7 separate regions of the Homo sapiens genome follow, and all the other regions are linked to region 6. Evidence: promoter capture Hi-C in 16 types of primary human blood cells and fetal thymus (Javierre and others, 2016). All regions are on one chromosome and are shown on one strand. The core of a region is centred on a gene start or on the middle of the fragment in contact, and the rest is flanking DNA. Distances in the headings are between cores, read along the strand shown. Region 1 overlaps KPNA5 (karyopherin subunit alpha 5). Region 2 overlaps KPNA5 (karyopherin subunit alpha 5). Region 3 has its middle 5.5 kb from the start of KPNA5. Region 4 overlaps KPNA5 (karyopherin subunit alpha 5). Region 5 overlaps RSPH4A (radial spoke head component 4A). Region 6 holds the start of NT5DC1 (5'-nucleotidase domain containing 1). Region 7 overlaps ZUP1 (zinc finger containing ubiquitin peptidase 1).

Region 1 (3,748 bases), core at 867-3,366, 590 kb after region 6:
AATCCTTCATACATTATAGTAGGTACTAAAAAAATTGTGTTGAATAAATGATTAGAAGGAAGATTGTTTACATATTAAAGAAGAACAGGCTGGGAGCCCTGGCTCACCCCTTTAATCCCAGCACTTTGGGAGGCTGAGGCGGGCGGATCACGAGGTCAGGAGATTGAGACCATCCTGGCTAACAAGGTGAAACCCCATCTCAAAAAAATTAGACATGCGTGGTGGCTGGCGCCTGTTGTCCCAGCTACTCAGGAGGCTGAGGCAGGAGAATGGCGTGAATTCGGGAGGCAGAGTTTGCAGTGAGCCGAGTTGATGCCACTGCACTCCAGCCTGGGCGACAGAGTAAGACTCCATCTCAAAAAAAAAAAAAAAAAGAAGAACGATATTTATTTAGATGTCAAAAAGAATATAAGCAGATTTTGTTTTCCTCAAATTTTGATTTAGGAAATGTAGAGTTATCCCTTGGTTCCAGGATCCTCTGCAGATATCAAAATTCACTGATGCTCAGGTCCTTTATGTAAAATGGCATGGTATTTGCATATTACCTGCACACATCCTCTTGTATATTTTGAGTCATCTCCAGATTACTTATAATATCTAATACAGTGTAAATGCTGTGTAGTTGAGTTGTTATACTGTGTTGTTTTAAAATATGTATTATTGTCGGGCTCAGTGGCTTATGCCTATAATCCCAGCACTTTGGGAGGCCTAGGTGGGCGGGTCACCTGAGGTCAGGAGTTTGAGACCAGCCTGACCAACATGGTGAAACCCCGTCTCTACTAAAAATAAAAAAATTAGCCGAGCATGGTGGCGCACGCCTATAATCCCAGCTACTCAGGAGGTTTAGGCAGGAGGATCGCTTGAACCCAGGAGGTGGAGGTTGCAGTGAGCCGAGATTGTGCCACTGCACTCTGTCCTGGAGACAGAGCGAGACTCCGTCTCAAAAAATAAAATAAAGTGAAATAAAATATGTATTATTTTTTATTTTCGTATTTTGTTGTTGTTGTTTATTTTTAAGAGATGGGGTCTTGCTGTGTTGCCCAGGTTGCCCTCCAATTCCTGGGCTTGTGCAGCCCTCCCACCTCAGCTTCTCAAGTAGCTGAGACCAGAGGCACGTGCTGCCATGCTTGGCTTCTTATTTTTTATTGTTATTATTATTTTTGATCTGAGGTTGGTTGAATCTGGGAATGTGGAACTCACAGATATGGAGGGCCAACTGTACCTATAAATCTCCTTTAGTGAACTCACCATGTTTCTTTCTTCTTTTTTTCTGCTTCATTTTTATCTGCTCCTGAATTAATAAGCATAGTACTGTCATTCCTAAGATTTGTTTTCTATTCCTTGTTAATCAGATATACTAAATCTGTTAATGTATCAGATGTTATCTTTCATATGCAACAGATGTGCTTTTTAAGTTTTCTTGCAAAAATTCTTAGATACCTCATAATCCAGTGTGTAAATATGTGCTTTTTTAAGTGCTATAAAATGACCATGTGTATTCCACTTACACGCTTACTGTTGGTAAAAGATCTGAGATTGAAAGTGACGTGAAGTAGTCTGTGCAGCCAAAAGCTAGCCCAGAAATTTGACTTCTCATAAATACCTTAGATCTTCCTAGTATAATGATTGGGAAATACTCAAATATTCAGAATTTTAAGTTATAAAATTGATAGGTTTCTTTTGTCCACTCAAATGAAAACATGGAATTCTATGGCAACTTAATGTTTTATGGAAAGCTCAATGTGTAAACTGATTTCTCTTTATTACAGTTGTTCAAACGCAGAAATGTCTATTTGCCCAGAAATGATGAATCTATGCTTGAAAGTCCTATACAGGATCCAGATATTAGTTCCACTGTACCCATTCCAGAGGTATACTTTACCAAAATATGTTTCAAATTATACCTCAATAATTTTAGCAATAGTATGTATAACAAATATTTATGCATGCAAAATTATTCATGTAAAATATGTAAATGTTAATTATATTTTTGTGTGTGTGTTTTAGGAAGAAGTTGTTACTACAGATATGGTTCAGATGATTTTTTCTAATAATGCTGATCAACAGCTAACAGCAACACAGAAATTTAGAAAGCTGCTTTCTAAAGGCAAGAATTATTTTCAGTATGCTTATTTGATATTACACGATTTTTTAGTAGAGGTTTATTTTATTGTTTTTTTTTAAATTTTAAAATACCTTTCTTTGCTAGACACAGGTGTTATATTCTCTGCAAAATATATTGTAAAGTAACATCCGTTTTTGAACATGATGTTACCAAAGTAACATATGTTGACTGTAGAAAAATCGTAAAAATATAAAAGCAGTTAAAGAGGCAAATATAAAAAGATTAATCCTGCTGCCAAGAAATAAGGTTAGAGATATATATTTTTTAATTCTTGTAGAAATATTTTTCAGACATGATTTTTTATTTTTATTTGTATTTATTTATTTTTTATTTTTTTGTTATACTTTAAGTTTTAGGGTACATGTGCACAACGTGCAGGTTTATTACATATGTATACGTGTGCCATGTTGGTGTGCTGCACCCATTAACTCGTCATTTAACATTAGTTATATCTCCTAATGCTATCCCTCCTCCCTCCTCCCACCCCACAACAGGCCCCGGTGTGTCATGTTCCCCTTCCTGTGTCCATGTGTTCTCATTGTTCAATTCCCACCTATGAGTGAGAACATGCGGTGTTTGGTTTTTTGTCCTTGCAATAATTTTCTGAGAATGATGGTTTCCAGCTTCATCCATGTCCCTACAAAGGACATGAACTCATCCTTTTTTATGGCTGCATAGTGTTCCATGGTGTATATGTGCCACATTTTCTTAATCCAGTCTATCATTGTTGGACATTTGGGTTGGCTCCAAGTCTTTGCTATTGTGAATAGTGCCGCAATGAACATACGTGTGCATGTGTCTTTACAGCAGCATGATTTATAATCCTTTGGGTATATACCCAGTAATAGGATGGCTGGGTCAAATGGTATTTCTAGTTCTAGATCCCTGAGGAATCACCACACTGACTTCCACCATGGTTGAACTAGTTTACAGTCCCACCAACAGTGTAAAAGTGTTCCTATTTCTCCACATCCTCTCCAGCACCTGTTGTTTCCTAACTTTTTAATGATCGCCATTCTAACTGGCGTGAGATGGTATCTCATTGTGGTTTTGATTTGCATTTCTCTGATGGTCAGTGATGATGAGCATTTTTTTATGTGTCTTTTGGCTGCATGAATGTCTTCTTTTGGGAAGTGTCTGTTCATATCCTTCGCCCACTTGTTGATGGGGTTGTTTGTTTTTTTCTTGTAAATTTGTTTGAGTTCTTTGTAGATTCTGGATATTAGTCCTTTGTCAGATGAGTAGATTGCAAAAATTTTCTCCCATTTTGTAGGTTGCCTGTTCACTCTGATGGTCGTTTCTTTTGCTGTGCAGAAGCTCTTTAGTTTAATTAGATCCCATTTGTCAATTTTGGCTTTTGTTGCCATTGCTTTTGGTGTTTTAGACATGAAGTCCTTGCCCATGCCTATGTCCTGAATGGTATTGCCTAGGTTTTCTTCTAGGGTTTTTATGGTTTTAGGTCTAACATGTAAGTCTTTAATCCATCTTGAATTAATTTTTGTATAAGGTGTAAGGAAGGGATCCAGTTTCAGCTTTCTACATATGGCTAGCCAGTTTTCCCAGCACCATTTATTAAATAGGGAATCCTTTCCCCATTTCTTGTTTTTGTCAGGTTTGTCAAAG
Region 2 (3,802 bases), core at 320-2,819, 610 kb after region 6:
CCGCCTCGACCTCCCAAGGTGCTGGGATTACAGGCATGAGTCACTGTGCCTGACCTGTTTAGTGTTTTTATCATAAAAGGATGTTGAGCTCTTTTAAATACTTTTTGCATCCAATGAGATAACTTGTTTTTTTAAATTCATTATATTAATATGGTTTATTATTTTGATTGATATTTGTATCTTGAAGCTTCCTTGCATTGCTTGGTTAAATGCCATGTGGTCATAGTATAAGCTGCTAGATTCAGTTTCCTAGGATTTTGTTGAGGATTTTTGTATGTATATTCCGAAGAAATATTTTTTCTTTTGTAACTTTTGTTTTGATGTCTTTGTCTTTGGTATCAGGGTAATGCTATCCTCATAGAATTGATGAGGAAGTGTTCTCTTTTTTTAAAAAAAAAATTTTGCGGCTACATAGTAGATATGTTTATTTATGGGGTACACGCGGTGTTTTGATACAGGCATTCAATGTGAAATAAGCACATAATGGAGTATCTATGCCTTCAAGCTTTTATCCTTTGAGTTACAAATAATCCAGTTACATTCTTTCCATTATTTTAAGTGTTCTCTTATTTTTTGAAAGGGTTTGAGAATTATTCATTAATGTTTGGTAGAATTCACCAGTGAAGCCATCTGGTGCTGGACTTTTCCTTTTTGGGAAGTGTTTGATTAGAATTCTATATCTTGTTATAGTTCTATTTAGATTTTCTATTCTTAAGTCAGTTTGGTAGTTTCTGTGTTTCTAAGTGGTTTTTCATTTCTTCCAGCTTATCTTTCTTGGCTTTTGATGATAATATTCTCATATAATTTTTTTTTGTTGAAGTGCTGATAGTAATGTCTCTACTTTCATTCTTAATTGTAGTAATATTATTTTATATATATATATATATATATTTTTTTTTTTTTTTTTTTGAGTTGGAGTCTTGCTCTGTTGCACAGGCTGGAGTGTAATGGCATGATCTCGACTCACGGCACACTCTGCCTCCCGGGTTCAAGCGATTCTTTCACCTCCGCCTCCCAAGTAGCTGGGATTACAGGTGCATGCCACCATGCCTGGCTAATTTTTGCATTTTTGTAGAGACATGGTTTCACCATGTTGGCCAGGCTGGTCTTGAACTCCTGACCTCAGGTGATCCGCTTGCCTCAGCCTCCTGAAGTGCTGGGATTACAGGTGTGAGCCACCGCGCCCAGCCAAATTGTAGTAATATGAATCTTTTTCCTTTTGTCCATCTAGATAAAGGCTTGTTTTTGTTGATTTTTTTTTTTTTTTGGGTCAAAGAACTGCCTTTTTGTTTAGTTGATTTTCTGTAGTGTTTTTCTATTCTGTATTTTATCTCTGGTCTTAACTTTATTTTCTTCCTCCTGCTAGCTATGAGTTTTGTTTACTCTAATTTTTGTAATTTCTGAAGGTGGAAGGTTATCTTTTTTTCATATGGGGTGTTAACAACTATAAATTTTTTTCTGAGTATTAATTTCACTACATCCCTTAAGTTTTGGTGTGTTTTTTTTTTTATTTATCTCAAAGTATTTTCTGCATATGTGTGTGTGTGTGTGTGTGTGTGTGTTTTAACTCACTAGTTATTTAAGAGTATGTTACTCTACTCATAGTTCTGAATTTTCTAGTTTTCTGTCTGTATTTTTAGTTTCATTCCATTGTTGTCAGAGAAGATACTTTTTATGATTTCACTTTTCAAAAATTTATCAGAGCTCAAGTGATCTGCCTGCCTTGGTCTCCCAAAGCCTCCTGAGTAGCTGGGATTACCGGCATGTGCCACCAAGCCCAGCTAATTTTTGTATTTTTAGTAGAAATGAGGTTTTGCCACGTTGGCCCGGCTGGTCTCAAATCCCTGCCTCACGTGAGCCACCTGCCTTGGTCTCCCGAAGTGTTGGGATTACAGGCGTGAGCCACTGCGCTAGGCCTAGACCATGTAAGTTTTTAAGTGATACTTCTTTTTCTTTTTGAGACAGAATCTTGCTCTGTTGCCCAGGCTGGAGTGCAGTGGTGCAGCCTCGGCTCATTGAACCTCCGCCCCCAGGTTTAAGTGATTCTCCTGCCTCAGCCTCCTGAATAGCAGGGACCACAGACACGTGCCACCATGCCTAGCTAATTTTTGTATCTTTAGTAGAGATGGGTCTCACCATGTTGGTCAGACTGGTCTCGAACTTTTGGCCTCAGGCGATCTACCCACCTTAGCCTCCCAAAGTGCTGGGATTACAAGCATGAGCCACCACATCTGACCCATGTGTTACTTCTTCCTGATAGATTGACTTTTTATCAATATATGATGTTCTTCTTTGTCTCTGAAAACAATTTTTGACTTACAGTCTAGTTTGTCTCATTAGTGTAACTATTCGGATCTCTGTTATTATTTGCATGGAAAATCGCTTCTCGGCCTTTTGGCTAAGATCAAGTGTATTATTTGCATGGAAAATCTTTTTCTATTTCACTTTCAACCTATTTATGTCTTTGATTCTAAAATGAGTCATTTGTAGACAGCATCGTAGACTTATGGGTTTTGTTTTGTTTTGTTTAATATATTCTGCCAGTTACTACTTTTAATTTGAGAGTTTAATTCATTTACATTTAATATAACTACTGATAAATGGGGACTTACTTTTGCCGTTTTACTATTAGTTAAGCTTTTGTAGAGACAGAGTCTCGTTATGTTGCCTAGGCTGGTCTTAAACTCCTGGCCTCAAGCGATTCTCCTGCATTGGCCTCCCAAGGCACTGGGATTATAGGTGTGAGCCATAGCACCTGGCCATTGTTATTTGTTTTCCACATGTCACTTTTTTTTTAAAATAATTTATACTATTGATTCCTTTCTTGTTTCCTTTCCTATTTTTTTAAAAAGTTTTTTTTTAATGTACCCTAAGGAGTATAATTAACACTTTAAACTTGTAACCACCTTGATTGAATTACTCGCAGTTTACCTTCAAAATTATACAAAAACACTACTCCTATACATATCTGTCTCACCCTTCTTAAGTTGTTATTGCCACAAATTGCATTATTATACATTGTGTGCCCATTACCCTAGATTTATAATGATTTTTTTTTTGCATTTTACTTTTAAGTCATGTAGGGAAAAAAAGAGGAATTACAAACCAAAAAATCCATAATACTAGCTCTTAGAGTTACCTATGTAGCTATCTTTAGCAGTATTCTTTATTTCTTTGTATGGTTTTGAGGTATTGTTTATGGCCCTTTCATTTCAGCATAAAGGATTCCCTTTAGCTATTCTTGTAAAGCCAATCTGCTAGTGATGCCTTTCCTCAGCTTTTGCTCATGTGGGAATCTCACTTTCTCCTTCTGTTTGGAAGGATTGTTTTGCTGGATATTGAAGTCTTGGTTGAGAGCAGCACTTTAAATATGTCATCCCATTGCCTCTGTCCTTCATGATTTTTGATGAGAAATCGGCTATTGATCTTTATGAGGAATCTTTTTACACTACGGGTCACTTCTCTCTTTTTGCTTTCAAGATTCTGTCTTTGTCTTTTGATTACTTGTGTCTTGGTATGTGTCTTTTTGAGTTTATCCTTAGAGTTTATTCAGCTTCTTGGATGTGTAGATTCATTTCTTTTATAAAGTTTGAAAAGTTTTCAGTAATTATTTCTTCAGATATTCTTTTTGCTCCTTTTCTTCTTGGATTTCCATTATGCATATATTGGTATGCTTGATGGTATTTTACAGCTTTCTTAGACTGTGTTCATTTCTTGTCATTCTTTTTCTTTCTGCTTCTCAGTTTGAATAATTTCAATTAACCTATCTTAGGGTTGTGGATTCTTTCTTCTCCCTGCTCAA
Region 3 (4,286 bases), core at 279-2,778, 570 kb after region 6:
AATAGAGGCCTGGAAGATAAAGCCCAAGAAATTTCTCAGAAAACAGAACAAAAAGAACAAGGGATAGAAAAACAGGAAAGGAAAATAATCAAATGAGAAATTGGATTCTACATCCAACTAATAAGAGATACAGAGAGGAATAACAACAAAAACAATGGAAAATTAGTTATCAATGAAATGACATGATAATTCATGACTTAATAATAATTTCTCCTGAAACATTATTTCTTATTATTTCCCAGGAAGCTCCCACCAAAATGAGGGAAGAAGCAAAGAAAGTGGAAGGTATGGGGCCGGGCATGGTGGCTCACACCTGTAATCCTAGCACTTTGGGAGGCCGAGGCAGGCGGATTGCTTGAGCTTAGGAGTTTGAGACCAGCCTGGGCAATATGGTGAAACCCCGTCACTACCAAAAATACAAAAAATTATCCGGACGTGGTGACGTGTGCCTGTGGTCCTAGTTACTGAGGAGGCTGAGGTTGGAGGATCATTTGAGCCCAGAAGGCAGAGGTTGCAGTGATCCGAGATCACACCACTGCACTCTAGCCTGGGTGACAGATTGAGACCCCATCTCAAAAAAAAAAAAAAAAAAAAAAGAAAAGAAAAGAAAAGAAAAGAAAAAAAGAAAGTAGAACGTATGGAATTCCATAAAAAACTCTACCAAGATGAGAGAGAACAGACAGGAATGAAGGCAGAAAGGAAGAAAAAGAAAGGGAGGGAGGGAGGAAAGAGGCAACTGACAGATCACTTCATGTTTATGACCATACTGAGAGAAATATATTCTGTTAAGCAGAATAGTGTCCCTCAAAGATGTTTATGTCCTGGCCAGGCATGGTGGCTCACACGTGTAATCCCAGCACTTTGAAAGGCCAAGGTGGGAGGATTGTTTAAGGCTAGGAGTTGGTGACTAGCCTGGCCAACATAGTGAGACCCGCCCCCCCCGTCTCTAATATTAAATTTTTTTAAAAGATTCTATTTCCTTATTAACAGAACCTGTGAATATCTTACTTTTCATGGCAAAAGGAATTTGTAGATGTGATTAAGGATCTTGACAAGAGGGGTTTATCTAGGTAGGCACAATGTAATCACAAGGGTCCTCATGAGAGGGAGACAGATAGGAAGGTCAGTCTTAGAAAAGGAGATGCGATAACAGAAACAGAGGTCAGAGAGATGTAATTGCTGAAAGGGGTCCAGAAGCCAAGGAATGTAGGTAGCTTCAAGGAACTGGAAAAGGCAAGGAAATGGATTCTCCCCTATAGGCTCCAGAAGAAACACAACTTTGCTGACACCTTGATTTTAGCCCAGTGAGACCCATTTTGGACTTCTGACCTCTAAAAGTGTAAGATAATACATTTATGTTATTTTAAGTCAGCAAGTTTGTGGTAATTGGTTAGAGCAGCAACAGGAAACTAATACAGATCTCCAGCAGTGTGTTTGAAGATGAGTTAGTGATGAGTAGTTAGAAAATTAAGCAAATGATAATGACAGAAAACAGGCAATTAATTTTAGAACAATAAAAAACTATACAAGGAATGTAATTTTTACATAAAAATTTAAATATTGATTTAACCAAAATAATTTTGATAGAACTATATTGGAGGATGTGCGATCAGGAAGTATGTGTAAATGTGTATGTTGGGAGGTTAGTGCAGTTATGAGTAATAAATTCTCATTTTACATCTATAACAATAGAAAATGTCTATGACTTTACAAATTAAGAAATAGCAGTGTATGATTTTAAAATATTTAATTAGAAAAGAGATACCAATAAGAATACCTAAACAAGTTGAAAATAGTAGCTTCTGGGGAGCGGCATCTGGGGATGGTCAGGTGGGAAGTGTTAATTTTCACGATAAACTTATTATTGGACCCTTTAAATGATATATTTGTATTATTTGATTACAATAAATAAAAATTTAATTGTAAATTACTACACCTTCTGGACAGGGAATAGATTATAAAGGAGTCAAGGTAGATACAGATTGCTTAATTAGGATACTACTGCAGTTTATGAAATAAATGATGGAATGCTAGAAGAAGTGTCAGTAGAGATGGACTAGGTGTAGATGTGGACTATTTTGGAGCTAGAAGCGAAAGACAGGAGGCACTGGTAAGGGCAAGGTAAAGAATGATTCATAAGTTTTTTAACTGGAGTTTCTGGCTGCGTAGTTGTATCATTACAGAGATAAAGAGGCCTGAGAAAGAAATAAAGTGGAATGGGATAGAATAAAAAAATCTGTTTTGGCTTATTAAATTTGAGATGCCCATCAGACATCCAAATGGAGGTTTGATATATGAGTTTAGACCTCCAGGAAGAGGTCAGGGATGGAAATTTGAATTTGGGAGAAAGTGGTTTATAGGTAGATGGCTTTTAAAAATACAGGAGTATGTTGTATCACCTAGAGAGGCAATGCAGCAAAGTAAGAGGCCTGGCGCCAACATTTATAGGTTGCTTAAAGGAGGAAGACTAAATAAGGAGGATGAGAAAGAAGAGGCATGAAGCTGAAAGAAGGCCATTCATTTCTTTATCTTTGGAAAACTGAAAAAGTATGTGTGGTAGAACCTTTGGTACACTGCCCAAGTTCTGGTTCAGGACTAAAGGATTTTCTTCCCCCAATGATGAGGGCTCTAGGCCAAGTTCCACTTCAGAAACTGCACTCTGGTCAAAGGGAGCTGCTGCCTCACCCAAGATTAACCCTCCTCTCTGGATTTGATTCAGTGATATCCAAAGACTTCTTGATTCAGTGATAGAAACATGAGCCTCTAGCCTCAACAGTGACAATTCTGAAGGGCCATCCCAGCTTCTGCACTTCCTATAAGATTGTCTGAAGTCTCTGTTGCTAATAATGCAACATAATTTATCTCTCTGTAGAATCCTGCTTCCTCACTCCTGTTATTATTCCCAAAGAGCACTCTGCAATAAATATCAGGTGGCAAATCTTGAATCTCAGTCTGTTTCCCTGTGTTCCGTGAAAGGGCTGTATATGCAAAGCAACTGCCAAATGTTGAAGGAGCCAAGAACCCAAAAAGGCAGAAAAATCAAGTTAATTGGTCTTGGGTGATTTATTAGGGGAACTTACAGACAGAAGCGTGGTCTTGGGTGGCCGCAAGACAGGTAGATCTCCATACCACTAAACCCAGGGCTAACTCTCTAAACCCAGGGCTTATATCTTAGGGAAAATATACGTACTCTGGAAGGAATGTTTAGGTGGCTACAGGTGTCACAGCCTGTGATTTCTGTAGCAGCATCAAGGATTGTTTTGGAGGAAACTTACGGTGAATAGGTGTTCCTACTTAAAGAGTAATACATCAACTAGACATTTTGGGAGCATTCCTGGACTTGGGGTTAGTCAGAAATGCTAATGGCAGATTAGCATTTCAAATAAAGTCACTCTGTCCCCACATCCTGGATCAGACCTATCGATAGCAGCAAGGATACATGCTGTTGTGTGGAATGACTTGTGCTACAGAAGTGAGGGAAATTTAACAATAATTTACAACTTCAACAATTAGGATGGTCATGTGTCCCAGTTTGCCCAGGACAGTCATCCCAAAAAAGTTACTATTAGTACCCCATTCCACTATCAAAAATGTCCTGGTTAACACAAATTATATGATCCTGCTACTGATAACTTTGAGTCTTAATCTAGTTCTCATTAAGATAAACTACTTAGGTACGAATCACAGCTACTTCTTACTAGCCCTGTGACAGTGGAAAGTTTACTTACACATTCATCTGTGCCTCAGTGTCCCCTATCTCATGTTGTCATTGTAAAGTTAAGTATATCAAATTTTAATTTTGCAGTGATCAACAGGATCTCAGAAGAAGTATGTTCTTACTTTGATAACTTACCTGCTTCCTTATTCCATTTGGGCTGCCATAACAAAAATACCAAAAATGGGTTGACTTATAAACAGTAAACATTTACAGACAGTCCCCGACTTATGATGGTTTGACCTATGACATTCCAACTTTACAATGGTGCAAAAGTGATACACATTAATAATAAACCATACTTCAAATTTTGAATTTTGATTCAAAAATTCTTTATAACTTTATTCTGACATAGGCTTTGTGTTACATGACTTTGCCCAATTGTAGCCTAAGTGTTATGACTATGTTTACAGTAGTCTAGGATAAGCTATAAGGCTCAATAGGTTAGGTGTATTAAATGCATTTTTGACTTACAATATTTTTCAACTTACTGATGGGTTTGTTGGGAAATAACCCCATTGTAAGTTGAGGATCATCTGTATTCCTCACAGTTTTGGAGGCCAGAAGTCCA
Region 4 (4,131 bases), core at 149-2,648, 630 kb after region 6:
ACATCACTGGATAAGACATTACATGAATACAAGATATTAGTCACTGATTTAAGAATATTGTCTTACTACAGTCATTATTTTGACCCCGAGTCAGACTAGGGTTTGAGCTATTCTGTGATTGTGTATAGATAGGACTGCTTTGCTGCTTTTTTTTCTGTGATAATCTGATTGAAGTCGTTTATCTGTAATTAAATGAAATGTATTTTCAGCACTACCCAGACTTACGTGTAGAGCTTTTTCTGATAAGCAGTAAAATCGATTGCTATAGATTCTTCTCATCTTTTCAAAATGAGGCCTTTCAGTTTCAATTGTAGATTGTAATTCTTTTAAACCGCACAACAGCCATATGTTTTTTATTGTATGGGTTTGGAAATTTTACACATTTATTTCATAGTGATACTCTCTGGCTCAGCGTGTTTTATTTTCTTCATTTAATTTGTTTTGTTGCTTTCCCTTTTTGGGCTTTGTTAATTACTCTAGAAAGGACCTGTGGAGTTAATCTAAAACTGCCATTTTACAGTTGAGAAACAGAAGAACTAAACTTACCTGGCCAAGATCACACACCTAGCAGGGTGGTGTCTGTGATCTTACTCCCAGGCCTATGGTCCTTCTTCGTATGACACTGCTACATACTCTCATTCTTGAAGTATAAATCGTAAGTGATGGCTATCGGTATGTGCAACAGTTAGATTAAAATAGTCCCGTTGCCAGTGAGGTGATAGATGATGTTCACTTATTATTTTGATTTAAACATATACTGAAATTGTAGTAACAGTTTGTTTATATATATATATATATATATATATATATATATATATATATATATATACTTTGTATAACAGGTCTGGATAAAATTGAGTTTTTGCAAAGCCATGAAAATCAGGAAATTTACCAGAAGGCATTTGATCTGATTGAACATTACTTTGGTGTAGAAGAAGATGACCCCAGCATTGTACCTCAGGTGGATGAAAACCAACAACAGTTTATATTTCAGCAGCAGGAAGCACCAATGGATGGATTTCAACTTTAACTTACTGGAGGAAAAAAAATTTATGGCTAAAAAGGGTAGCTTCAGGTAACTCCTCTTTGTTGCCAATGTAAGAATGTTTGTTTTTTTACATAGAACAGTAAAGAGAATTTGATGCACTTTTAGAAAGCAAAATGAAACAAAAATTTCCATTCAGATGCAACCTTTCATTGTAGTTTGTTGTTGTTTTAGTTTTGTTGTTGTGCCTGTATTTATATCTTCTATTGTTTGGATTTTTGTATCTATTTGTGAATAATTGAATATGCAATTATTTAGTAATTTAAGCTTGAAAAGGAGAATTTTGGTGAAGCATTACTTAGTAATTCTGAATTTTTTCAAGCATTCTTGGAAACTGCACATTAGCAGTAAACCTATTGATAATTGCATTTTGGCAGTAAGTCTTACACATCTAATCTCTACTAAATCTACCTCTATCTTGAAGCAGAAATAAAAACAAAAAAGCTTCAGAAGCATGAAATAATGCAAATGCTAAATTAGAATGTGAAAATATTTATTACCTTAAATTATACATATCACTGTGCTGTAGGTTATACTTTGCAAAAAATTGCAACAGAAAACCTATAAAATTTATTTATAAAACAGAAGAAATATTATACTGATAATCCATTAAAATGTGGCAATTGTGAAGGGAGAAGCTGTTTTTCATGTTGAACACATTAAAAAGATTACTTTATAAAATGTTTAAATATTTCTGTTTTTAACATATAAGTGCTATGTATATTAGTATATTTTGTATTTCAACCAAATATGCTACCATTTTTGAAATAGTGTTTTATTGTTTTTCACTCATTGTTTTAAAGAGCATCATGACAGAGATGTCATCATGAATCTAAAGTAGTGCTGCATATCTAAAATAATAACTAATTATTTCTCTGATTTTTCAGAGCAGTAATTGAAAAGTTTCATTTTCTGTATAATAGTACTAGTTTAAGTTTAAGTACAAGTACAAGTTTAGGTACTCGAATGACAAAATTACCCTGAAGAAATAACCTTATTATGTGTTAAATTGTATTAAATGCATTTAACATTTGGATGCTAAATGATAATGAAAATTGCTAAAGGTTCTTTAATATGGTTCAAATCTATAAGACTTTTTTCTTTTAGTAATACTCAGAGGGTCATTCTGCTGCTTGTTATGAATCATAGATTACATTCATGTCAGATTGATCAATATGTATGTTTTATGATTTAACAGCAAAAACCTCTTCAAACGGAAAATTTGAAAGAAAGGTTTCAATAGAAAAATTATATATATATTTATACATATATATGTGTGTGTGTTACTCTCACAGTTCAACTACTGTTGAACTCAATCTTTTAATTTATAGTTATACGTAGGCTATTTATGTGTCCAATTGTATACCTAGAATACTTACTTAAAACTTAGTTTACAACTCTTTTTAAGATGAGAACTAAGGCAATTTTGATATGATTCATGGTCTATTCTTTAAAAAAAGATTTCATTTATGATAGTATTTGTAATGTTTCTGCTGGAAATCAGAGGCACGTTCCAAGAGGAAAATGTATATAGGAGTACTTTTAAAGAATATGTCACTTTGTAAATTACATATCATGAAACTAAGCTTTTGACAAGATACTTAAAACCTACAGCTGTAAAATACAGGTTTAAATGGTGTTCGTAATGCTGAGTGCATCTGCCAGCCCTTTTTTATTATTAAGTAGAAGATTGTATCTGTGCCCCTTTTTTCGTAGTGGAAGGTATATAGCCGAGTATAAAATGGTTTTCTTTTGCATTATCTGTATTCAAAAAACAGGGTAGTTATATTAAAGCTTACCAAATTGATGGTGAATTTATCAGATTAACCTTTTTGTGGTGCAGATGGTTCTAAGTATCAGGTGACAGGGTATTCTACTCTTTCTAGTCAATTAAAATTGATAATGCAGCATGATTCATAAACTAACCAGCTGTGCCTCCTTTTATTTTGAGGACCCTGTAGTCACTATAATAAATTTCTAAGCCAAATTTTTCAAACAAGATAGTTCTTATAGAAGGAGAAATAATAAATATGTGTGTGTTGATGCATGCACACAGAATGACCTGTGAAAGGAAACTTAAATTTTGCCGGTAAAACAAACATATCTCTACAGACTGTGATTATACTTCATAAGCATTTAAATACAGTTTTATTTATTTCCTTAAATATATTACTTGGGTAATTAATTTTAGATTTGATTGCAAAGAGCACTGTATAGCAGTTGGGACCAGCTCTTGGCTTGGCTTGGCTTGGCTTATTGTTAAGAGTTTATTGGATCAAGACTAACAAATAACTTTGTGATGAAAATTCTTCAAAAATATAGCTACTCTTTTCAAGTATACCATTTAAAATATTTCATCAGGCAGAGCCCTGACCAGGAAAAAAAAAAAAAAAGAAAGAAAGAAAAGAAAAAAATAAATAAAATGCTCCAAAAAGTGTTTTCAGTAGTCTTCACTGGCCCTTGTGGGAGGAAAAATACTTTTTTAACTTGCTTTTCTAAGATTTGTTATATTTAAATCCAAGAGAAACTATGCCGAAAAAAAGTGTTATAAAGAGGAATGCATGTAGCATTAATGCAAATATCAAGAAAATACTTGAAAGAGTCCTTTTCATTTATTTAATTAAATTTGGTGTTTTATTTTGTCTGAATCTGAATTTCTCCTATTTAATCTATGCAATTATGCTTGTTTTATATTTATAAGCACTTGACTCACTGGGTGTGGTCTTTTTACTGTGTTTTATTTCAAAACGTTGTTTTAAGTGATAGTGTCCTTAAATTTTAGTGTCATTTGGTCAACTTACTGGTAACACCAGAACAAGAAAGCAAAAAAGTAATAAATTCTGCTGGCACAGAACTAACATATCATTTGGTAACTGTAAAACCTATTTGCAGTTAAAGGTTGATTTATTGGATAAGGGACTAAAAGAAGCATATATTACCTTTGCCTTTATATTTTTTCTTCTTTTAAGAAGGAGCATTATGGAAAAATAAATATAAAGTCTTAGTGAATTTTTGTTATGGTTCTCAATTCAGCAATCTACTGGCTGCTTGCGAAACTGTGAAATCAAATTGTTCTTAACCTTTAT
Region 5 (4,341 bases), core at 593-3,092, 530 kb after region 6:
GTGCATCCACTTAACCCCTGTGCTATATTACCTCATCTGCAGGTAGAAAATCTTCGTTATACTTTGATCTAGATAAGAGATACTCTTAGCTTTCTCTACATAAGAGCTAACTGAGACATTATAAACCCTAAACCTCCATAAATAATCTTACCACATTTAAATGTTATTGTTAATAATAATCATCATAATAGCTTTAGCTCTCTCACATAAATTATTTACCACAAACCAGTAAAATACACTCTTACCTTTTTCACTAAGGTTCTGCTAATTTTAAAATATAAGTGATAATTTAAAAATACACATTCTGTGACTTCAAGAATTTGGCAAATTCTTAAAATAAATAGCACGGTCCTTTCCTTGAAACAACCTAGATCAAAATAGCACTTGGAAAATGTATGTAGAATGAATGAATGAATAATTGATTAAATTCCCACAGAGTTACACTTCATCCTGATCAATTCAAATGAATAATCTGAAATTTTAAGGTCCCCATTAGACTACTAAATCTTGCAACATTCATTCCCAGGGTCGCTGTAATTGGTTCAACTCCATACAAAAAAATGAGGAAGAAGAAGAGGAAGAAGATGAAGAAAAAGACGATTCTGACTACATAGAACAGGAAGTGGGGCTTCCTCTTTTGACACCAATCTCTGAAGATTTAGGTTATTTTACGTAACTATTATCACACACAGACACACAAACAATATAATATACTGTGTGCATTATATAGTAAATATGAGAGTCGGAAAGCTCTAAAAACTGGACAGGAGCCAAGGTCTCATCCTCTTCCCATTCATGTTCTGGGATGATAGGGAGTGAAGAATGTAGCTGGCCACATCAATGTTCTCTGACAGAGGTTGAAGGAGTCATGCAGACAGGAAACATAAGTTGGCTGTAGCGCTTTCTGGAAATGCTGACAATTGTCTCCTTTATTATTCTTGTCTTGCATTCTGCAGACCATAAACAAATGGCATAAATATTCTTCGTCCTGGTTTTTAAAAACTCTACTCTCATTCCTATATTCTTGTCTCTTTCCCTTCAGTTTTGGAGTATTTGTGCTTGCAACCCTTGATCTTATTCATATTAATGATGTACCTTTCATTGGGCCATCAAATATTACTCACTCTACCACATAAGCCTCCTTTCCCTTAATAAAACTTCTTGTCTTGTTTGCAAAAATGGAGATGTATATTTCAAATTCCATTGTTCCAAAACATTCATGAAGTACCCTCCTGATTTTGTTAAGTTGCTGCTGTTTTTTCTTTCTGTATCAAGTATGTGTGTATCTGTGTGTGTGCATGCATGTGTGTGTGTGTGTATTTATAAAAATAGCTTACACAGTAGATTCTTGTCTAGTTAGGAATTAAGCTTTTGCATTTCTCTTTGGGTTCCAGAGATTCAGAATATACCCCCCTGGACAACACGGTTATCCTCAAATCTCATTCCACAATATGCTATTGCAGTCCTTCAATCCAACCTTTGGCCTGGAGCATATGCCTTCTCCAATGGCAAGTAAGTATCTGACCACTTACAAAGCCATTTCTGTGATTAGTTAAGCTCTGGAAATTATAAATAACCACTAGAATGTTAAGCTACTATCGTTGTTTCTTTGGTTTTTTTTTTCGTGTTTTTTTTTTTTTTTTTTTTTTTGAGACAGAGTCTTGCTCTGTCACCCAGGCTGGAGTGCAGTGGCATGATCTCGGCTCACTGCAACCTCCGCCTCCTGGGTTCAAGCCATTCTCCTGCCTCAGCCTTCCCAGTAGCTGGGATTACAGGCATGCACCACTATGCCCAGCTAATTTTTGTATTTTTTTTTTTTTTTTTTTTTTTAGTAGAGACAAGGTTTCACCATGTTGGCCAGGCTGGTCTTGAACTCCTAATCTCATGATCCGCCCCGCCTCAGCATCCCAAAGTGCTGGGATTACATGTTTGAGCCACCATGCCCAGCTGCTACTATCGTTTTAACTCATCTTTGGCATATTATGTGTGTGTGGCATAAAATTTATTAAAATAACATCTGTGATACACAATAAAACATCAAATTCAGGACATTAAGTAGTAATTTGGACTTTTACCCTTTCATCTTAATTATCCAATTTGTTGAAATAAAATATGGTTTTTCATCATTGATTATTTGGGTAATGACTTATTCACTTAGTAGATTAATGGAGGTATTTCTAAGCAATGTTTAGTTTAAATCTCAGATCATTTCTGGAGAGAAAGCTGAGCGGCCAGGTGTTAGAGTAGCCATTAAAGCAACAAGCTAAAAATGAGAGTTAAGCCTTTAATCATTTACTGTGATAGTATAAACAAGAGAAAGCTTTGACATCCCCCTGTTCCATTTTCCCCCATGGAATGGCCCTCTATTGGAGAGTCAGGTGGATCAGCACAGATATGGCTATCATAGATGTGGAGGTGCTGGGGTCATCTCATTGACAAGGGAATCCTCAAACGGCTCCTGCAGTTTTACAGACCTGGAGACCAAGAGGAGGATGAGAGGGCTAGAAGTGAAAAAGTGCTGAGCACAGAGAGCAGAGAAAGGAGGGGCTGGAAAGGCCTCTGCTGAAGGCCTCAGATAAAGAGACCTAGGAACGGAAGCACCTGGTCTAGGAATGCAAACATTGAAGAGCATGACGAGCCAAAGGGGCCAGCGTCCTTGACTGCAACTTCCCGTAAAGACAGCAGTGCATTGTACTCCAAGTCTGATGTGCCAGGTAAACTCTTTGTGATTGCCTATGGTCATGCCTAAAAAAAAGTAACACATAGGTTTCTAACCACAAGCCCAACTCCTTGCCCAACCAGGAGTTTGCACAGTTAGCTATTTTTATATCTTTCTAACTTTGTGGAAGGTAGTAACTTTTTTTTTTCCTCCCCTGAAAATAATTGAAGGAAGAAAGGCTTTTGCTTGTGGTCTAGGTGTAGGGTACATTTTAACAGTATCTGGCCCCATGGTTTTTTTTTTTAACCAGCTTAGGCAGTTTGGATGAAAACAATTCCCTGTGGTAGAAGAATCATTGAGGAATATTTCACTTCTAGCATTTTACATGTATTGCTTTTTTAAATTATAGGACCATGATATTCTAAGCACTTTAATATTACAGAAGGGTCAGTTTTTCTGAGAAATTATATAATGATCTTTTTTTCTTCTTCTTTTTCTTACTTATAGAAAGTTTGAAAATTTCTACATAGGCTGGGGTCATAAGTATAGTCCAGACAATTATACACCCCCAGTTCCACCACCAGTTTATCAAGAATACCCCAGTGGACCAGAAATTACAGAAATGGATGATCCTAGTGTGGAGGAGGAGCAGGCTTTCAGGGCTGCACAAGAAGCAGTTCTACTCGCAGCTGAGAATGAAGAATCTGAGGAAGATGAAGATGAGGAAGATGATTATGACTAATAAACATAAAATTAGCCTGGTTTTATGTGACACTGATACACACACACCCCTTATATGGGACTAATTTTACACTTTTCTGTGTTATGTGTGTATATACATACACATGTAAGAAATTATTCAACTGCAAAATCTCAATCTTGAAAATCAAGCTTGAAATTTCATAGGTAGAAATATTAGCATTTTTATTGAAAGATACTCACAGGATTTTCCAGAGGCTAAATAACATGCAATTGCATAATTGTTCTGAGGGTTATGGATAATGGAATATGTGTTTGTACATTCCTGTTTTTAAAAGGGCTCAGGTTTCACATGGTCCAGGTGAGGTAAAACAATTAAAATAAATAAATAAATGGTCTCAGGTTTAATTTGTAATACGACAAACACTGGAAGATATAACCCACAGGAAATTCTTGGAAACATCAATACTTTTTAAAGAGTGTCAAGGGGTATGAAGACAAAAAATATTGATAGTCACTAGAGTAATGTATTCTTAACCTTTGTAAGAACTGATCTCAGCATGTATTCTTAAACCTTTGTAATTACCTATGGTGTGGACTGTGATATTGTGTGCAAACACTTTATAGCATATATATTCATTTTTCCTGCTTGAGATAGTATCATAATTCTGTCACCTGCTTAAAACTGTAGGAACACTCAATTTTTTTTTTTCTTTTTTTTTTTTTTTGAGACGGAGTCTCTGTCACCAGGCTAGAGTGCAGTAGTGTGATCTCGGCTCACTGCCACCTCTGCCTCCCGGGTTCAAGTGTTTCTCCTGCCTCAGCCTCCTGAGTAGCTGGGACTACAGGTGCACGCCACTACACCTGGCTTTTTTTGTATTTTTAGTAGAGACGGGGTTTCACTATGTTAGCCAGGCTGGTAAATTTTTAACTCTTTTGTTACTTCTCAAAAAGTCTTCTCAGACTCCTCTTTCATCCTACAG
Region 6 (4,343 bases), core at 556-3,055:
GCAAGTACATAAGATTGTTGATGTGCATGTAATAGCCAGATCCAGTCCCAGGACCACTTGGTTATCGACCCAGGGGTCTTTTTCTCTTTAAGAGTGCCCTGGTTCCCTCTCTCCCCTTACCCCAAGTCAATTTCCTGTTCACAATTCAGCACACTCAAGAGGTTTTGTAAGGAGAAGTTTTTGCTAAGTCAACAAAAAACAATCCTTTTATACTCTTCCCTCTTACAATGAATGTACTAGTACATTTGTATTACTAAGGGAAGTCCCTAAAGTACCTAAAGCACCTACTCCCACATGAAACAAGATATTCCCCAAGGAAACATGTGCCCTTCAATGTGGCATGCACCTGGAAGTTTGACTTTGGTAGCATTCTATTGCAAGGTGCAGAGGAGAATGCCAAGGTCAATGCTCCAGGGCCAACAAGCTTTTTCCAGCCTCTCCAACAATCCAGCCTTTTCTCTTTTGGTTCACAGACATTGAAAACATGATTGTTGGACTCATCAGTGAACAGCTTAATCTTCTTGAAGATTCTTTACTTTTCCTATTCCAGAGAGATTTGTTTGGGGCTTTTAAGTGTTATAATGGAACAAGTTATCAATTTTATTCAAATGGGTCTACTAGGTATAAGTGTCCTCCTACTCAATTGTACTATCTATTGCACTAAATTAATCCTCTGATTGGTCTATTAGCCTCAGAAGGATTAGTATTTGAAAGGGTTAAATGCAGTTCTCAATCAATTATATTTTCATTATGTCACGACTATTGATTTGTCCCATTAGACACATTGTTCCTTTAAATTGAGAACTGAAGCAGTGTAAACATAATAGATTTGTATTTTCTTTTTAAAATGAGGTACTATGTAATAAAGATCTCAAAGTGCTAGTCCTTCACATCCGGAAATCAGGAAGAGAATTAAATGCCCTAAGGCATACATTGTATGTAATGGATTAACTTTCTCTGCATCTAAAATGGTAGTAGTTATACAGTTCTTGAGAGAATTAAGCAAATGTCACTCAAAACATTTTGTGCTCTATAAACCTTAAACCCGGTTTGCAAAAGTTTTTTGTAGTATGCTCTATATATTTCTATGAAGTTTCTGATGCCCTTTCATAAAAAATTCATTACAATAACAAAATAGGATTATCAAGTAATAACCAATATTGGTTTCCATAACAAGTATCATCTTGCAAAATGGTTCTTCACGATGTCTGATACATTTATTTTCTAACGCACTCCAGGGTATGAAATAGTGAAAGGTCTGTCTTCCACTTAACCACTTAGGAAACCAAGGAATATAAAGTTTTTGGTTTAAACCACTATCAAAGATCACGTGGGTGAAAAGACCTTCCAAATTGTAGGCTAACTGGGTCAGAGGGATATTAGCGGATGAATTTTTTCTATGATCTTACTATTCCTCACACAGGGGTAAAAGGTCAGGTCTAACCTCATGATCTCCTGGTTTCCGAGGCGCCCTGAGGCGATGGAGTGTCCCGGTTAATTTTGTGGTAGCCCTCGGGAAAGGCTACGTGCCTACAGGTCTCAGCTGTGCAGCAGCGGCACCGCTCCTGGACCCCTACTGCCTTCTGGGCTCCTAGGCTTGCGGAACAGATCAGGAGTCGCCGGCATTGGGGTACCAGGAGGACGCGAGCTGACTACCTGACTCCGGGCGGCGCAGGACGCCCGCCGCGCGAGGGGCGGGGGCTAAGCGTATCGAGGGGCGGTGCTCGAGGGCGCGGGAGGCGGGAGAGGCTGCCGCGCCGTGTGCCCTGGCAGCCGCAGCCCCGCCCCGCCGCGTCCGGCCCGGTCCTGTCCCGCAGCGTCCCGCCAGCCAGCTCCTTGCACCCTTCGCGGCCGAGGCGCTCCCTGGTGCTCCCCGCGCAGCCATGGCTCAGCACTTCTCCCTGGCCGCCTGCGACGTGGTCGGATTCGACCTGGACCACACTCTGTGTCGCTACAACCTGCCCGAGAGCGCCCCGGTGAGTGGCGCGGGCTCCGGGGCGCACTGCGCGCAACCTCCATGGCGGCTGGGGCTTGAGTTTCCTCCAGGTTTGGGCAACGGCGGACGCTGCCCGGGGCCTGCGGCGGCCGAGTCTTGCCGCAGAGCGCGGCCTCCAGCGGCGAGAAGGGGCGGAAGTGTGCAGCCTCCGCTCCGCGCCGGTGCCGTGGGGACCGGCACATTTACCTCAGCCATTAGCTAATGTTGAGAGGGATAGGGAAGAACGAAGGAGGGGCAAACTGCGCAAGACCGGGCTGGGGAATCGGTGATTTCTAGGGCCGAGGAGGGGCGGGGTCAGGGGGACTAGGGCTGTCCTTGAAGATCTCACGTCGTGGAACTTTCTCTGCATGTCTTTCTGGACACCAGCTGATTGTGGACACAGCCACTTGATTTGGTACTTGCATTTTTTTTGGCTGCATTTTTCTGTTTGCACGATCAACCACCCATCAGTGTTTAAACTGCAATCTGGGAGAGATGCGTAGTATATAGTGTAGTGTATTGAAAGGAACACTAGTTGAAAAGTCATTAAGATCTTAGCCCTAGTTTTACCTTCTATCAAGAGAAGAAAATACATATTTATTGCGCATCGACTACGTGCTCCGTGCACTTTGAATACATTCCAGTCCTACCAACAGTCTGCGAAGTTTGGGTCCTCACTGTGCCCTGAGGGAGGGGGACATGGAGTATGCATGCTTCCAGACCTGTACACTCAAATTAATTGCCCTCCCTCCACTATTCCTTTGGTTTCCCAATTCCCAAGGAAACTAATTTTGAAAAGTTACCAGATTTTTTTAGTCCAAGATCTAAGCATCCAGACAGAAAAAGAGCTGGTTATGAGTACAGTGGTGAAAGCGAGGACTCCTCAGCCAGACTGCCTAGCTTAGGACACCAGCTCCACTGTTACTAGCTCTGTGACTTCGAGGAAGTTACTTAACCTGTGCTGCTTCTCAGTTTCCCCATCTGTAAAATGGAGCTAATAATTGGATTTACCTCACAAGATTGTTGCAAGGATTAAATGAGTAAGAGATGTATAATGCTTAGAATAGTACCTTGGCAAAGACAAGTGTTTGCTTTTATGGTTACCACCCAAACTATTTGGAAACCTCACAGTTTATGGGTAGAACTCTAGATCACTGGTGCAGACATCAGCCAGGGTTGTGCCCCATTATGGGCACCCGCCAGTTCCTGCACCCACCAGTTCAGGTACACGTTAAAGGTCAAAAAAGAGTGGCTGCCCGAATTTCTCGTGTGTTTTCTATGCCCAGATGCTAAATTTTTTTTTAAATGTCCTTTTTCTGCTGTTACACTTTCCTGCTTTCTTACCTTACAGGTCTGGTTTCCTTAGTCACATTGAGAATTAAGAAGGCTTTTTTACTGCTTGATTCTTTGGCCACTGCTTCCCCTAGGTCTTTGATACATGTTTTCCTTCCCTCTGTGTCTTTCGAATCCTTCCTGGTTCACAGTTTTGTGTGTCTCCTCTTTAGTTACCTTCATTTGGAGGTAATATTGTTAAACCACTGTCATGTTAGAGCTAGTGTTGTCCATAGGTGATCATAAAATTTCAGAATATAAGATTCTCAAAGACAAGAGGTTTTTTTACTGCAAACCTGGAGAATAAGTGATGTTTAAAGCTTGAAAACAGTAACCTATTGAGTTTTGGATCATGTTTGGTGTGGAAATCTTTTTTATTTTAAGTCCCACAGTGTGCTGAGCACCATGCTAGAGCTGAGGATACAGAGATCAACACGCAGGCCTCCAGGCAGCCTTACACAGTAGGCAAAAATGCTGAAGAGTTAGTCTTGGTCCCTTGTGGTGGGTAGTATGACCTGGGTCTTGCTTCACGCTGCCAACAGTGCCTGGAGGGCCTCTTTGCTCTGCACAGAAGCTCTTCATCCCATCAGGCCTCATCTTAAACATCGTTCCCCTTAGGAAGTCTTTTTGGCCCTTAAAGTTTGCCCTTCCATTCTAAGCCCACCTTCAGTTTTCCACAAAACCCTTCATTCCTCATAGCACATGCTGCATGATATTAACACTTCCTGTTTACTTGTTGGACTTCCCCTAGAGCCCAGCGTGATGACTCCATCAGTATCTGTGACAGTTTCTTGTGTGTTCTGTGTGCCGAGCTTAGTGCTGGGCACATACTGGACTCAATAAATAGACTGAATAGATAATAGGTATTTTAATAACAGAATATGATACAGCCATGATTCTAATAAGCATGCTGCTTATATGAATGGATTTAATCCTTACAACGTCCCTGTGAGGTAGATATTATCACCACTGTTTAATCACTTAACAGTGATTTAGTCACTGTTAAGAGAGCATCAAGCAACGGGGCACAGAAGGA
Region 7 (3,893 bases), core at 1,179-3,678, 550 kb after region 6:
AAGATTTTTAAAAAAGAGACATGATAAACTTAGAAGGTAAAGAAGCAGGCCGGGCGCCGTGGCTCAAGCCTGTAATCCTAGCACTTCGGGAAGCCGAGGCGGGTGGATCACCTGTGGTCAAGAGTTGAGACCAGCCTGGCCAACATGGTGAAACCTCGTCTCCACTAAAAATACAAAAATTAGCCAGGCGTGGTAGCGGAAGCCTGTAATCCCAGCTACTAGGGAGGCTGAGGCAGGGGAATCGCTTGAACCCAGGAGGCGGAGCTTGCAGTGAGCCAAGATCACGCCACTGCACTCCAGCCTGGGCAACACAGCAAAAACTCCGTCTCAAAAAAAAAAAAAAAAAAAAAAAGATTAGTTCAGTGGCCAACTATCAATAGTTCCACAAAGAAAACAGAGACATTATAATTATCAAACAACAATAGTTAACCTCTGAAGTCATGCTGTATGCCAGTCACAGTTCTAAGTACTTTATTATCCCATTTAATTGTCTAACTACTATTAATACCTTCTTTTATCAATAGTAGACCTAAGTACAGACAAGTTCATTCATTCAGCTATTAAGTAGGAAAGCTATGAATCAAGGTTAGGCAGTCTCGCTCCAAAGTTCAAGCTCTTACCTACTATCCTAGATGGAACTAAGATCTTAGACAACTCACAATTCCAGATTCAAAGAGAAAAACAAATGCCCAACACAATGAATCAAAGCCCCACACCCCATGGTGAAATTTCATAATATCGTGAAATTATGATGGGCTAAGAGAAGGTTGGAATAACTTCCACAGAAAATAAATAGGTTATACATTTTAAAAATGAGACTACACACACACACACACACACAAAACAGTGAAAAAATGCTACATGACAATAGCTGTAGATCTAGAAGGCAAAAAGTCCAGATTGGAGCAAAGAGGACAGAATGCTCAAGAAGGATGTGTCCGAGAATAAGGAGAGCCTCAGATTACATGACAGGTAGAGTGCAAAAACTTGAGGCCATGATGTCGTCACATATTATAGTAAAAGAGAAAAGGAAACACAATTATTAACTCAAGAAAAATTATAAATGATTTTAGAAAAAATCAGCAACAAGCAATATTTACACAATTGTATAATAAAATCTGACTTTATAAAATGATGTAAACTCTGATTTTAATAAAAACCAAGATTTAATCATATCAGAAGGATTGAAGGTAAACAGGTATAAGATATTAAAACAGACTATCTGAAACTCATAAACCAAGAAACAGCTATGAAAGCATACCATTTAAAAACAATGGAAGTGACAGTTGCCTCTGAGAGACAGAACTTGAGGGTAGAGAAGAGCACAAGATAGTGAATAGGCTGCTGATTTTCATTGCTACTTAATTTAGTGCTACTTAATTTTATTTTTAAACTATCTCTTTGCTAAAAAATAAAATTTTACAAAACAAAGCTCCCCGATAAGGAAATAACATTTATTTAGGTTTTAAGGTACATACTTTACCCTTAGGGAGGTCAGGAGTATATATACTTCACATGCTCCAATCCAGGCCTTTGTTCCCTGTAACCTGTTATTAAGTTGAGAGGCCCCCTGAGGATCAAAACCTTCCTTCCATGCATCTTCAATCATAGATTGAATTTTTGGAATGCAAGGAATCAACATACCTAAAATTACACAAGCAAACATGTTACATGACTGTTAATAAAGTACTGAATAATATTTAGCAGTGTATTATGTACTCGGGGAACTTTACGGTTTTTAAGACAGTTATTCCTGACATCTTCTATCATTTTCTCTTCCTCTAACCAGAATTCAGGTTTCTTATATAAATATCCACTAACTGTTAAAGCTATTAATTGTGTATGCTATATCATTCTATATCATATGTATTTTATCAGATGACAAGTTCAGAGTACTAGATTTCACATACCTTTTAAGCAATCGTTGTAAGCATCATTTTGTAATAATGATGAAAGTAGCATTTGGAAATTTCTGTAACCACAACCCCAACCTTTGTCGCCTAAAGATGAATGAAAGTGATCCACCACTGAAGAAAGCCACACCCGTCTCACATCTGTGGCAGCATTCTGATAATACCTATGAAGTGCTTCAATAATTCCTAAAGTAGAAAAGAGATTCAGAAGCAGTCATTATCACCTTTATATTGCTATCTCATACATTTTTAATATCAACCTCTCCTTCACGCACCATACCTAAATCCTGTTAATTCCATCTTCTTCACCTTCTTCTTGCTATAACCTTAGTTTGTGTCCTTGCTTGTTACTACAGTCCAAGTTTCCTAACACTAGCATATTATTTATTACAGTTCATTGAAATTTTCTGCATCTGCAGGGCCCAGCACATAAAGTACAACTGTTGAATGAATGTTCTTCTTGTGTCTCCATTTTATTGTATAGACTACTGGAGATCACTCAGTCTTAATCAATTTGCTCCCAATCAAAAAATATTAATAGCTCCCTATTACCAATAGTTTTAATTTTTTTGTAATTTAAGATTTTATTTTGCAGATTTTGCAATTTTCGAAGCATGAGAATACACAAATGTTTTCATTTAAAAACTCTTGACTTCATGAATAATAAACATATCTCATACTCCAATACGCTAAATTTCAACCCTTTAGTAACATATTCCATTTTGCTATTTGGGGAGATTAATTAATTTGTTTGAGACAACAGAAGACAACTTTTCTTAAGGCAGAACAATAGGTTTAGGAATCTTATTAATAGCCTTATAAACCTAATTAGAATAGTTCTAATCTATGTTATATGAAGTCTACAGAAAGCTATCCACTGTCTTATCTTTATTTCACACTACTCTTCTTGCTGTAATTTTGGCTGTGGCCTAACTGAACACATTAAACATAATTTGGCCCATAGAGTTTTATTAAATTTTCAAATTCAGTATTTGCTAAGTACTTTTTAATACACCTGGCACTATCTAAATGCTAAGTACAAAAAGATAAATATGATAATATCCTTTAAAATGTCATCGACCCCAACTATAACAAGTGCTATAATATGGAAAAACAAGGTGTTAGGACAAGGGACATCTGACTCGGCCCCTTTCCTGCTTTTAGTATATTCTCCTTATGTTTCAAAATTATAGATCCTTCACATGCTACTGTCTTCATAGACCCTTTTTCTGATTCTACCCTATTTTTGTGTCCCCAAGGTACCAGCAACATTCAGTCACAGAATACTATAATTCTTTGTGTATATTTACATACTCTACAGACTCTGTGAAGCCTATGGGTAGGGAGATCTTATTATATGCCCCATAACTTTCTCATAGCATGTGGCACCAAAGACAATAACTAAATTCTTTTTGCTTGAATGAAGGGTTTCCTAGAAGAAAATGGGTTTTTGTCTTTAATAAAGACAATAAAAGATCAATAAATAAAAACAGTTAAATGAACCAATAGTTGTAGCTGTGCCTTGCACCATGAAAAGGTGAAATACTGATCACTGTAACCACTTCCAAAGAACTTAGAAAGACTTGAATTCAAGAAAAACAACAATTAAAATAGTATATAACTGAGTACTAAATGTTGTAGCATGGAATGAATGGGTACCCTAGGAATTCAGAGAAAGAAAGCTAAATGTAGATTTTAATATCATAGACTTTGATGAAGAGATCAAGATTTGAGGCAGCCCTTTAAGAATGAGGTGGAGTAGGGGACAGAAAAAATAGAAAGGAAAGTAATAAACATTCTAGTACATTTTAGTATATATGTTACATATCAGATGGAGAGCAACACTGTCTTAGCAACATCATGCAACTGCTTTAGGGGGAAATTTCCTTATACTTTTTATTCCTTAGCACCTAAATGTCTTTAGATATTTTCCACAGTAAATTTATCTTCAGTTAAATTATATTCTGTTGTTAAAATTAT

Evidence for each region. The method cuts DNA at HindIII sites, captures the fragments that hold promoters and counts their contacts. A CHiCAGO score of 5 or more calls a contact.
Region 1: a contact is called between a fragment that was not itself captured here and the fragment with the promoter of NT5DC1 in region 6, in 1 of 17 cell types (activated CD4 T cells). The highest score is 5.5, in activated CD4 T cells.
Region 2: a fragment that was not itself captured here is called in contact with the fragment with the promoter of NT5DC1 in region 6 in 2 of 17 cell types (total CD4 T cells and M0 macrophages); the score reaches 5.7 in total CD4 T cells.
Region 3: a contact is called between a fragment that was not itself captured here and the fragment with the promoter of NT5DC1 in region 6, in 10 of 17 cell types (non-activated CD4 T cells, total B cells, activated CD4 T cells and 7 more). The highest score is 10.1, in non-activated CD4 T cells.
Region 4: a fragment that was not itself captured here is called in contact with the fragment with the promoter of NT5DC1 in region 6 in 1 of 17 cell types (total CD8 T cells); the score reaches 5.3 in total CD8 T cells.
Region 5: a contact is called between a fragment that was not itself captured here and the fragment with the promoter of NT5DC1 in region 6, in 1 of 17 cell types (fetal thymus). The highest score is 6.2, in fetal thymus.
Region 7: a fragment that was not itself captured here is called in contact with the fragment with the promoter of NT5DC1 in region 6 in 5 of 17 cell types (total B cells, monocytes, activated CD4 T cells and 2 more); the score reaches 7.4 in total B cells.

What each region holds. Positions count from the first base shown.
Region 1 is chr6:116,690,286-116,694,033 of GRCh38, forward strand. KPNA5 (karyopherin subunit alpha 5) reads left to right here. Exons shown (of 14, transcript NM_001366306.2): 3 at 1,770-1,871; 4 at 2,008-2,107. Among named protein-coding and RNA genes, the nearest start is that of KPNA5, 11 kb to the left of the region's middle. The HindIII fragment of the contact is 8,500 bases long and covers 1-3,748 here.
Region 2 is chr6:116,710,004-116,713,805 of GRCh38, forward strand. The region is part of intron 7 of KPNA5 (karyopherin subunit alpha 5); the gene reads left to right. It also overlaps the pseudogene LOC124901560. Among named protein-coding and RNA genes, the nearest start is that of KPNA5, 31 kb to the left of the region's middle. The HindIII fragment of the contact is 2,132 bases long and covers 504-2,635 here.
Region 3 is chr6:116,673,606-116,677,891 of GRCh38, forward strand. No RefSeq gene overlaps it. Among named protein-coding and RNA genes, the nearest start is that of KPNA5, 5.5 kb to the right of the region's middle. The HindIII fragment of the contact is 7,093 bases long and covers 1-4,286 here.
Region 4 is chr6:116,731,294-116,735,424 of GRCh38, forward strand. KPNA5 (karyopherin subunit alpha 5) reads left to right here. Exons shown (of 14, transcript NM_001366306.2): 14 at 843-4,131. The coding sequence ends at 1,030. Among named protein-coding and RNA genes, the nearest start is that of FAM162B, 32 kb to the right of the region's middle. The HindIII fragment of the contact is 177 bases long and covers 1,311-1,487 here.
Region 5 is chr6:116,629,041-116,633,381 of GRCh38, forward strand. RSPH4A (radial spoke head component 4A) reads left to right here. Exons shown (of 6, transcript NM_001010892.3): 4 at 527-662; 5 at 1,395-1,512; 6 at 3,167-3,945. The coding sequence ends at 3,401. It overlaps LOC124901386 (a long non-coding RNA gene), which reads right to left. Exons shown (of 2, transcript XR_007059721.1): 2 at 1-950. Among named protein-coding and RNA genes, the nearest start is that of RSPH4A, 15 kb to the left of the region's middle. The HindIII fragment of the contact is 952 bases long and covers 1,367-2,318 here.
Region 6 is chr6:116,099,048-116,103,390 of GRCh38, forward strand. It overlaps NT5DC1 (5'-nucleotidase domain containing 1), which reads left to right and starts at 1,806. Exons shown (of 12, transcript NM_152729.3): 1 at 1,806-1,976. The coding sequence starts at 1,884. It also overlaps a transcript of FRK not described here. RefSeq lists enhancers at 1,466-1,988, 1,989-2,509, 3,979-4,048 and a silencer at 1,622-1,881. The HindIII fragment of the contact is 3,203 bases long and covers 423-3,625 here.
Region 7 is chr6:116,650,094-116,653,986 of GRCh38, forward strand. ZUP1 (zinc finger containing ubiquitin peptidase 1) reads right to left here. Exons shown (of 10, transcript NM_145062.3): 6 at 1,911-2,099; 7 at 1,479-1,644. Among named protein-coding and RNA genes, the nearest start is that of ZUP1, 17 kb to the right of the region's middle. The HindIII fragment of the contact is 5,992 bases long and covers 1-3,893 here.